Regions from separate parts of the Homo sapiens genome. Here region 1 is linked to region 2. Evidence: promoter capture Hi-C in 16 types of primary human blood cells and fetal thymus (Javierre and others, 2016). All regions are on one chromosome and are shown on one strand. Each heading gives the region's core, a stretch centred on a gene start or on the middle of the fragment in contact. The rest is flanking DNA. Distances are from core to core; before and after follow the strand shown. Region 1 has its middle 28 kb from the start of POU2F2-AS2. Region 2 holds the start of CNFN (cornifelin).

What was found. The method cuts DNA at HindIII sites, captures the fragments that hold promoters and counts their contacts. A CHiCAGO score of 5 or more calls a contact.
Region 1: a contact is called between a fragment that was not itself captured here and the fragment with the promoter of CNFN in region 2, in 2 of 17 cell types (neutrophils and erythroblasts). The highest score is 5.9, in neutrophils.

What each region holds. Positions count from the first base shown.
Region 1 is chr19:42,178,240-42,182,412 of GRCh38, reverse strand. It overlaps a transcript of POU2F2 not described here. Among named protein-coding and RNA genes, the nearest start is that of POU2F2-AS2, 28 kb to the right of the region's middle. The HindIII fragment of the contact is 7,957 bases long and covers 1-4,173 here.
Region 2 is chr19:42,388,729-42,393,192 of GRCh38, reverse strand. It overlaps CNFN (cornifelin), which reads left to right and starts at 2,896. Exons shown (of 4, transcript NM_032488.4): 1 at 2,896-2,953; 2 at 4,154-4,267. The coding sequence starts at 4,156. The HindIII fragment of the contact is 9,287 bases long and covers 1-4,464 here.

The DNA.
Region 1 (4,173 bases), core at 270-2,769, 210 kb after region 2:
GCTTCCTCTTTTCTCTCACACCCATTCTCCTCCTGTCCTTGTTCTCTTCCTTGCTCCCGCACCACATCTCCCTCTGCCTGTGTCCTCAGGGCCTCCTCCCTTCCTTCCATACATCCAGTTCCAGTTCCAGGTCTCTCTCTCTCTCTCTCTCTCTCTCTCTCTCTCTCTCTTTTGAGACAGAGTCTTGCTCTATCGCCCAGGGCAGTGCAGTGGAACAATCTTGGCTTACTGCAACCTCTGCCTCCTGAGTTCAAGTGATTCTTGTGCCTCAGCCTCCTGAATAACAGGTCTCTTCTTTTTGCTCCTTGTCCTTGCACCACTTTTTTCCTTCTCCCCAGTTTCTTCCCTTCCTGCTTTGTGTGCCTTCGTTTCCCTTATCTTACACCCTTTATCCTCAGAGATTATAAGGGAGCCCCAAGACTTGTAACCAAGACACCAAGATGTACACACACGCACACACATGGCCACAGATGCGCGAACAAATGTTTCATTAATGAACAAATGCATCTATCTAAAGGTATGTTCAAGGCCGGGAGTGTTGGCTCACGCCTGTAATCCCAGCACTTTGGGAGGCCGAGGTGGGTGGACCACCAGGTCAGGAGTTTGAGTCCAGCTTGACCAACATGGTGAAACCCCGTCTCTACTAAAAAATACAAAAATTAGCTGGGCATGGTGGCATGCGCCTGTAATCCCAGCTACTCGGGAGGCTGAGGCAGGAGAATAGCTTGAACCCGGGAGGCAGAGGTTGCAGAGAGCCGAGATTGTGCCACTGCAGTCCAGCCTGAGTGACAAAGCAAGGCTCTGTCTCTAAATAAATAAATAAATAAATAAATAAATAAATGTATGTTCAGACGCACACACTCAATTAAGGTCATCCATAGCTTGCAATGTTTTGTACTTAGTATACATCAGGTACTATTATTTGTATACATGTTTCTGAAAGATGAACAGGCAGAATGAGGAGGGAATAAGAGCTGAGCTCATTCGTACAGGAAGAGCCATGTACATGCACACCTGTACCCAGAGATGGCCCTCACTCAGACATGCACACACACACATTCCTCAGAGGAATCTGGTACTTCTGGAATTATGCTATTTCAGAAGCAGAGAGAGCACACATGTTTTTGCTGTGTTGTGTACAGTGTATGGTGTACGTCTTTGCATGTGCCTGGTGTGTATACATGTGCTGCATCAGCCTTCGTGGAATCATGACTCGGGGCTGGGCGGAGCCCTAGAAATCAGTTAGGACAACCTGCATGTGCGGATTGCTTAAGTCTCCTATTGGATCTGACTTTTGTAAGTCCATGAGGGATGTCAGCTTCTGCTTAATATGGATATTCTGGATAATTAAGATACCAATCATGCATAGGTTGTGGACCACAGACTCTTAACATACTGGCAAGTAAGCATATGATATGGACTTAGCACATATCAAACCAAGTTTTTTGGATCCTTAAAATTGGTGCTTTAGCCTGGGGAACATATGGAGACCTCATCTCTGCTTAAAAAAAAAAAAAATAGATGGGTGTGGTGGTGCATGCCTGTAGTCCCAGCTACTTGGGAGGCTGAGGCAAGAGGGGATTGCTTGAGCCCAGGAGTTTGAGGCTACAGTGAGCCATGATCACGCTGCGGCACTCCAGCCTGGGTGACAGAGGGAGACCCTGTCTCAAAACAAACAAACAAACAAACAGACAAACATTGGTGCTGTGTGCTTAGTGTATACTCACTGTATACACAATTATTATGTACTTGGTCATTCTTAGGAAGGATGACCGCCCCCCACCCCACCCATGTACTGGTCCTTGTAGGTGCCAGGGCCAAGGCAGGGAACAGGACATCCTTGGTCTCTGCCCTGTCCCTGCTTCCCTTCTAGTAGGTACTCAGGCTGTCCATAGCTCCTCCTAGGTCTATTGTACACGTACAGATGGAGGGACCTGGGAGTCTGCTGGGTAGATTCATTGCAGGGTCCAGTATTCCTTGTTGCTCCTTCCAGAATGGATAGTGTGTGGGTTGTCATTATATACACCCTTTTTTGAGTTCTCTCCTCACTATTGGGACCCCATGTGCCTTTGTATGCAAGCGGAGTGGGTGTTTCTTATGTTCAGTTTTGTTATGTGCCTTTGTGGATCACCAGAACCTGCTCATGGGTGTCTCTTATGTTCACACTAGCTAAGTCTATTAGGTTGGTGTGCCAGCTTTGTAGGCATGGGGGATAGGGTACTTCCTGCATTCATTTATGTTGTGCCCACACAGTATGGGTCCCAGGGAGGCTGGTTGGTAGGTGGCTATGGGGTGGTTCCGTGTCCACTATGTTCATGCCCTGTAGGCCCATGTGCCTAGTTTGTGTGCAGTTGGAGTGGGCGTTTCCTGTATTTATTTGTGTTGTGAACACACTGTGTGGATCCCAGGAGTCTGCTCTGTATGGGGGTATTAAGTGGTCCCATGTCCATTATGCATCTGCTGCATAAGACCCAAATACCTACTTTGTATGGACAGAGGGTAGTATTCCTTGCATTTATTTGTGTTGCGCACACAGTGCGGGTCCCAGGAGGCTGCTCCGTACAGGGAGTAGTAGGTAGTTCTGTGTCTATTATGCACACGCTGCACAGGTCCTGGGTACTTACTTTGTACGCCCACGGGGTAGGTGTTTCCTATATTTATTTATGTTACGCACTTCCAGTGTAGGTCTTGGGAGCGTTCTCCATACACGTGGGCAGTTGGTGATTCTCGTGTTTCTCACACACACATGAGGGTCCCGCGTGTCCACTCAGTATGCATGGGGTAGCCTTGCTGGTAACAAAGCGAAGGGCGGTTGCAGCTGCTAAGCCAAGACCGCGCAGCGCGTGCCTGCGTCCTCCTCCTCCTCCTCCCTTTCCCTCCCTGCCTTCCCCCTCCTGTTCCCTCCCTCTCACACCCCCTCCCAGGTCTGGGTACCACTTGCAACCCTATCCTCCTCTTTGCACCACTGCACCCCCGCCTGCAGGGGGCGGGAGCCATGCACCCTCCCAAGACCCTGTGCCCACCTTCCCCTGGTCGGAGCCCCTTCACCCTTGGCCTTCCTTTCCTTCCTCCCTGTCTCCAAGCCATAATGTGCCTGGCACAGGGGAGGTGCTTGGTGACTGGGCACTGCCCTCCTCTCTTTCTTCCCCTCCTCTCCCTTCCCCACTCCTCTCCTTTCTGCTGTTCTTCCCTCCCCTCCTGTCTGCCCTTTCCCCCTTGGTGCTTCCCTGGACCCTCTTGTCACCTTCCTACTTTCTGCTTTCACCCCAGCCTGTCCCTTCCTCCTTTACCTGGGCTCTGTCTCTGCCCCCCATCCCCAGCCTTGTCTACCAGACCTCATTCTCTATTTCTGACTCTCCATTTGTCTCTTCTTGTCTCTGTCTCGCATCTCTCTGTGGATCTCTGTCCAACTGAAAGCCTCTTCCAGTGCCTTTCTCCATCTCACTGTGTCTCTCTGTGTGTCTCCTGAGGTTTCTCTGTTCCTGTCACTTTCTTGCAGTCTCTGTCCATGTCTCTGCATTTCTCTGCCTCACTTTGACTCTCTGGGTCTCTGTCTTTGCTTTCTTTCTCTCACCATCTCTGTATTTCTTTTCATCTCTTTTTATGTCTTGATCTCTGTTTCTCTCTTTGCACATTTCTTTCTGTCTCTGTTTCTTAGGTTCTCTCTCAGAATCCCTATGTATATTTCTCTGTGTTTCTGTCTACACCTTCTTGTTTGACTCTGTCTCCTTGTTTGACTCTCTCTGTGCCTTTTTCTCTGTCTCAGTCTCAGTCTCTGTATCTTTTGGTCTCTGTCAATGTCTGTCTTTCTGGCTTTGCATCTCTCCATCTCTGTTTCTCTGTCTCTTTCAACGGCTCTTTCAACGGCTCTTTCTTAATCTCTGTCTGTTTCCGCAGGTCTATATCTCTTACCTCTGTGTGTGTCTGCCTCTGTCTCTATGTCTTCCTATCTCTGTATCTCTGCAACACTGCCTTACATCTTCATTTGTCTCTCTTTGCGTGTAGCTTTCTCCTATCTCTGATTTGTGCATATCTATCTCTCTTATTTCTGTGTCTCTGTCTTTGTGAATTAGTCTCTTTCTCTCCCCATATATATTTTTTCACTATCTCTCTGTCTCTGTGTGTCTACTTCTCTGTGGCTATCTTTCTGACTCTGCATCTCTGTCTCTGCAT
Region 2 (4,464 bases), core at 1,647-4,146:
CACCCAGAGCTCCCCAAGTCCCTCCTGTTCTGCTCCCAGCCCCGCTGGGCTGGCCTTCAAGGAAACAGCAGGTTGAGGAAGGGAAGGGGGACCACGCCACTTGTCCGCTCTGCCGGACCGGTTCCACCAGGGCCACAGATGGCACAACCCACCTTGTGAAACCCAAAGTGATGACTGACCCACATTGGGCAACTGGACTGAGACCTGGTCTGGATGCCTGGGTTCTGGGGAGAAAGGGGCTGGGAGCCTGGACTCCTGTATTTCCAAAGGAGGAGGGGGTTGGGTGCCCCATTCCTTCTAAGGGGGAGGAGGAGGATTAGGACCTGGACTCGCAGATCCTAAGGAGGGAAGGCTGGGGCCTGGACTCCTAGGTTCTGGGAAAAGAGGGGGCTGGAGTCCTGAACTCCTCTGTCTTTGATGGTAGGGTTCCAGATTTAGCAAATAAAACTATAGGAAGCCCAATTTAATTTGAATTTTAGATAAATAACAAATACTTTTTTAGTATAAATATGTCCCAAATACTGCATGAAACATGCTAAAAAACCTGTTTGTTGCTTATCTGAATTTCAGATTTTACAGGACAGCCTGTATTTTATGTGGCAACCCTGTTTGAGGAGGATGTAGGCCAATGCCTGGTGACTGGGCCACCATCACTCCTCAGCCCCCCAGGAGCTCCTCCTCCTGCTCACGGCCCTCCTCACCCCCAAGCAGGCCACCTCACAGCTTCCCCAGTCTCTATTTCCTCACCTGCATGAATTGCTAGATCTAATTGGGGCCCCCAGGCTGTGTCAGGAGTGAGAGAGGAAACTTGAGGACAACTCAGAGTGTCATGCTGGGAGCCCTGGGGTCCTCGGAGATGACTGACCTTGAGTCACCTGCACCCTTAGTCTGGACAGCAGGGGGGATGGGGCCCTGTAGCTGCCTCCACAGGGCAGGTCTGGAGATGAACAGAGATGGGAAGCGAGATTCAGAAGAGATTTTGACATAGGAGACAGAGACCCCGGGATAAGGGCACAGAGACACAGAGCCTGGAAGGAGAGGGACCCAGAGATGGAGAGACAGAGATTTGGAAAGAGATTTGCAGAGATGAGGAAAGAAAGACAGATTCACAGCTGGAAAGGTGAAGATGCAGGGTGAGAGACGAAGATTCAGAGATGAGGAGACAGGGATGTTAGGACACAAGTGAGGAGATGTCCCCCAGACATCCAGGCTCTAGGACCAATGACGGACGTGCACCGGCAAGACAGTGAGCGCTGCCGGGAGTTCTGGGGACAGGAAGACCCAACCATCTGGGTGGTGCTGGGAGACCAAGGCTTGGGTCCTAATGTGTTGGAGGGAGGGAGGGAGGGAGGGGACACCTGGGATCCCAGCTAGCAGGGTGATCCACCTGCCATCACCCCATACCCGGCGGGGTGATGACACCACCTTCTCTGCAGGTGACACCCCAGTTTTCTAGTGCCTCCTACATTTTTGGGGTGACACCCGTGCTGAGAACCCCACCCAGCTCTAATGCTGCTTCCCTCACTGAGTCACCTCCCAACCCCGTCAGGCCTGTTGGGGGGAAACTTTGGCGATTCAGGCACCCAGACCCCCAGCTCCTTCCCTGCTCAGGAGCCCAGCAGTGTGGAATCCCAGGACCCCTACCCTACTGAGGGATGTGCAGCCTGGCCTCATGAGACGCAGGAGTCCAGGGCCCCAGCCCCTCCTCCCTCAGACCCAGGGGTCCAAGCCCCCACTCCTTTGCTCCATTAGGACCCAGGAGTCCCAGGTGACGTCCACGTCCTTCAGGAACTGCGGCTTTTCAGTTCCCAGCCTCCTCCCTTCCCAATTTGGAGCTGGGGTGAGGTGTGTTTATTTACTTTGGTTCCAACATGAGTCATTCCCCAAAACACACTGCCCCCCATGTGTCTCCTGGCTTGAATGGGGAGGACACTGTCCCCCTCTCCCAGGAAAGTGGGGATATCACTGAGAGAGATGAGCGAGACCCTGAAAGGGGAGTCCCACACAGCACTCTCTCCCACTCCACCCGGCCTTTTTCTCTCCCCACCCATCACCTCTCCCCATTTCCCTGCCCTCTAAGCCTGTTCAGTGATCCCCCCACCTGCCTCTCCACTTTTCCATCTCCGTCTCTCTTCTGTCTCCCATCTCCCCTTTTCTTTCCTTTTTTTTTTTTAAGACAGGGTCTTGCTCTGTCACTGAGGCCGGAGTGTAGTGGCGGGAACACGGCTCACTGCAGCCTCAAACTTCTGGACTCAAGCGATCCTCCTGCCTCAGCCTCTCAAGTAGCTGGGACTACAGGCACATGCCACCATGCCCGGCTAATTCTATTTGTATTTTTTGTAGAGATGGGGTATCCCTATGTTGCCCAGGCTGGTCTTCAACTCCTGGGCTCAAGCGATCCTCTCACCTCAGGCGATTACAGGGTTGGGATTACAGGCGAGAGCCACCATGCCTGGCCCATCTCCCCTCTTCTTGTTATTTCTTTTCACATTTTTGTGCCCCTCTGTTTCTTGGCACCTCTCCATCTCTCTACATCTTCCTGCGTCTCTCCATCTCTCTGAATCTCCTCTCTCTCCTTTCTGTCTAGAGGGACTTCCCTGCCTGCCTTTCTGACACTGTGTTTCTGTCTCTCCCTCTCTTTTGGTCTCTGCGCATTGACCCGGCTGTGGCCCCCCGCCCCCGCCAAACCTCCCACCCCCCGCCACCTTCTTTTCCCTGGGTCCTGGGAGCTGAGGCAGGAGGAGAAGTGGGGGGATGGGAGTGGAGAGGGAGGGCGGGAAATCCCAGTGTGGGGAGAGGGTCGATCAGACCGGCTTGGCTCCCTGGGCACCTCTGTCAGAGCCCCGCCCAGGGCTGCGTGGCCGCCCATATAAGTGGCTCTGGGCTGAGACGGAGAAGTCAGTGCCCGTGTCTCCACACGTCTGCCTCCATCACTGCCATCGCGATCCTGCAGGTAGGAACATCCCCTCCGCAGCCCTCTTCTTTGAGGTTGGGCGCCTCTGCTCTGTTCTCCCTCCTCCTCATCCCACTCATATCACTCTGTCTCCTTTCATATCGCTGATTGTCGGTCTCTCGGGACATCTCTGTCCTTCCCAATGCCCCCAAATCTGTCCTTCTTAACTGGGGTGTGCTGAGCTGAATTTAGAAGTCTTGGGGCCCAGCATCACCTCTATGAACCCCCTTGGCCTGGGCCGTCAGACGTGGGGCGTTCCTCCTCATGTCTCTGAGCCTCAGTGCTCATCTGTGAGATGGGCTTGCAGAGGAGTCAAAGTGCTGGGCACATGTGGGCATTACTGGTGACATCTCTACGGGCACCTGGCTCTGATCTTTCTCCCCTTGTCTCTGACTCTGTCCATCTCCATTTCTTGTTCTCCCTCAAGCTCTATCTCGGGTATGGGGAGGGTCCTCTGCAATCTGTCGGGCAGTTGGAAAGACATGGGCGAGTTTCTCGCCCCCGCCCTATCCATTCCCTATTCCATGTCTCTCCTGGTTGACAGGCTGACTTGGCCTCTTTCTCCCCAGCTCCCCTCCCCCTGAGAGCCCAGCCCCCAGTGCCCCAGTCCCTTGCCCCCACCTCCCCAGTATCCAGCGTCCCTTGGACAGACTCTGCCACTGTTGCCACAGCCACTTCTGCCGTCCCCAACGCCACCTCCTCAGGGCCAGCAAGATGCAGTTTGAGATGCACGACAACGTGAAAGGCAAAGGTGGGACCGCTGGGTGGACCAGCAACCCTCTCAGTACTGGAACCTGGCCGCCTCCCTCCCCTGGGCACCCTTGCTTCGAAGACAGACGGCGCCTGCTTCCACCCCAGAGGCCCCAGAAATGCTGCAACCCAGAACCCAGGCCCAGACGTGGAGGAGGAGGCGGCACCGCCAGGCCCCACCCAGATGTGGTCCCCACCCTTCCTCAGATGTGCAGGAGACCCCCACCCCCAGCCTAACCAGACGTGCAGGAGCCAGCAGCAACAGGGACAGACTGGGGTTGCCGGTGCCCAGATGTAGCAGAAGGGAAGGGGGAGGCACAGTGGTGTCCCTTCAGTGGGCGGCCTGGCGGCCCCGCCCAGACTGCCCGGCACAGGGAAGGGTGGCCGAAGTGCGGGGCCCAGGAGATGCTGCGAGGCTGCCAGCTGACCCCTACCCTCCCACCTCTGCAGCTATGTCCTACCCTGTGACCAGTCAGCCCCAGTGCGCCACCACCAGCTGCTACCAGACCCAGCTCAGTGACTGGCACACAGGTCTCACGGACTGCTGCAACGACATGCCTGTCTGTGAGTGCCTGCCTGCTCCCTCTCCAGGCCTGGTGGAAGATGGGTTTGGGGGGAATCAGGAGAGGGAAGCTCACCTCCAACCTCCTCCCACCGCTTGCTAACCCCACTCCCACCTCCCTTCCCTGGACTTGGAATTCCCACTCTAACAGTCACCCTTTCCTCAGACCCCCAACACTCCTTAGGATACTACCTCATGC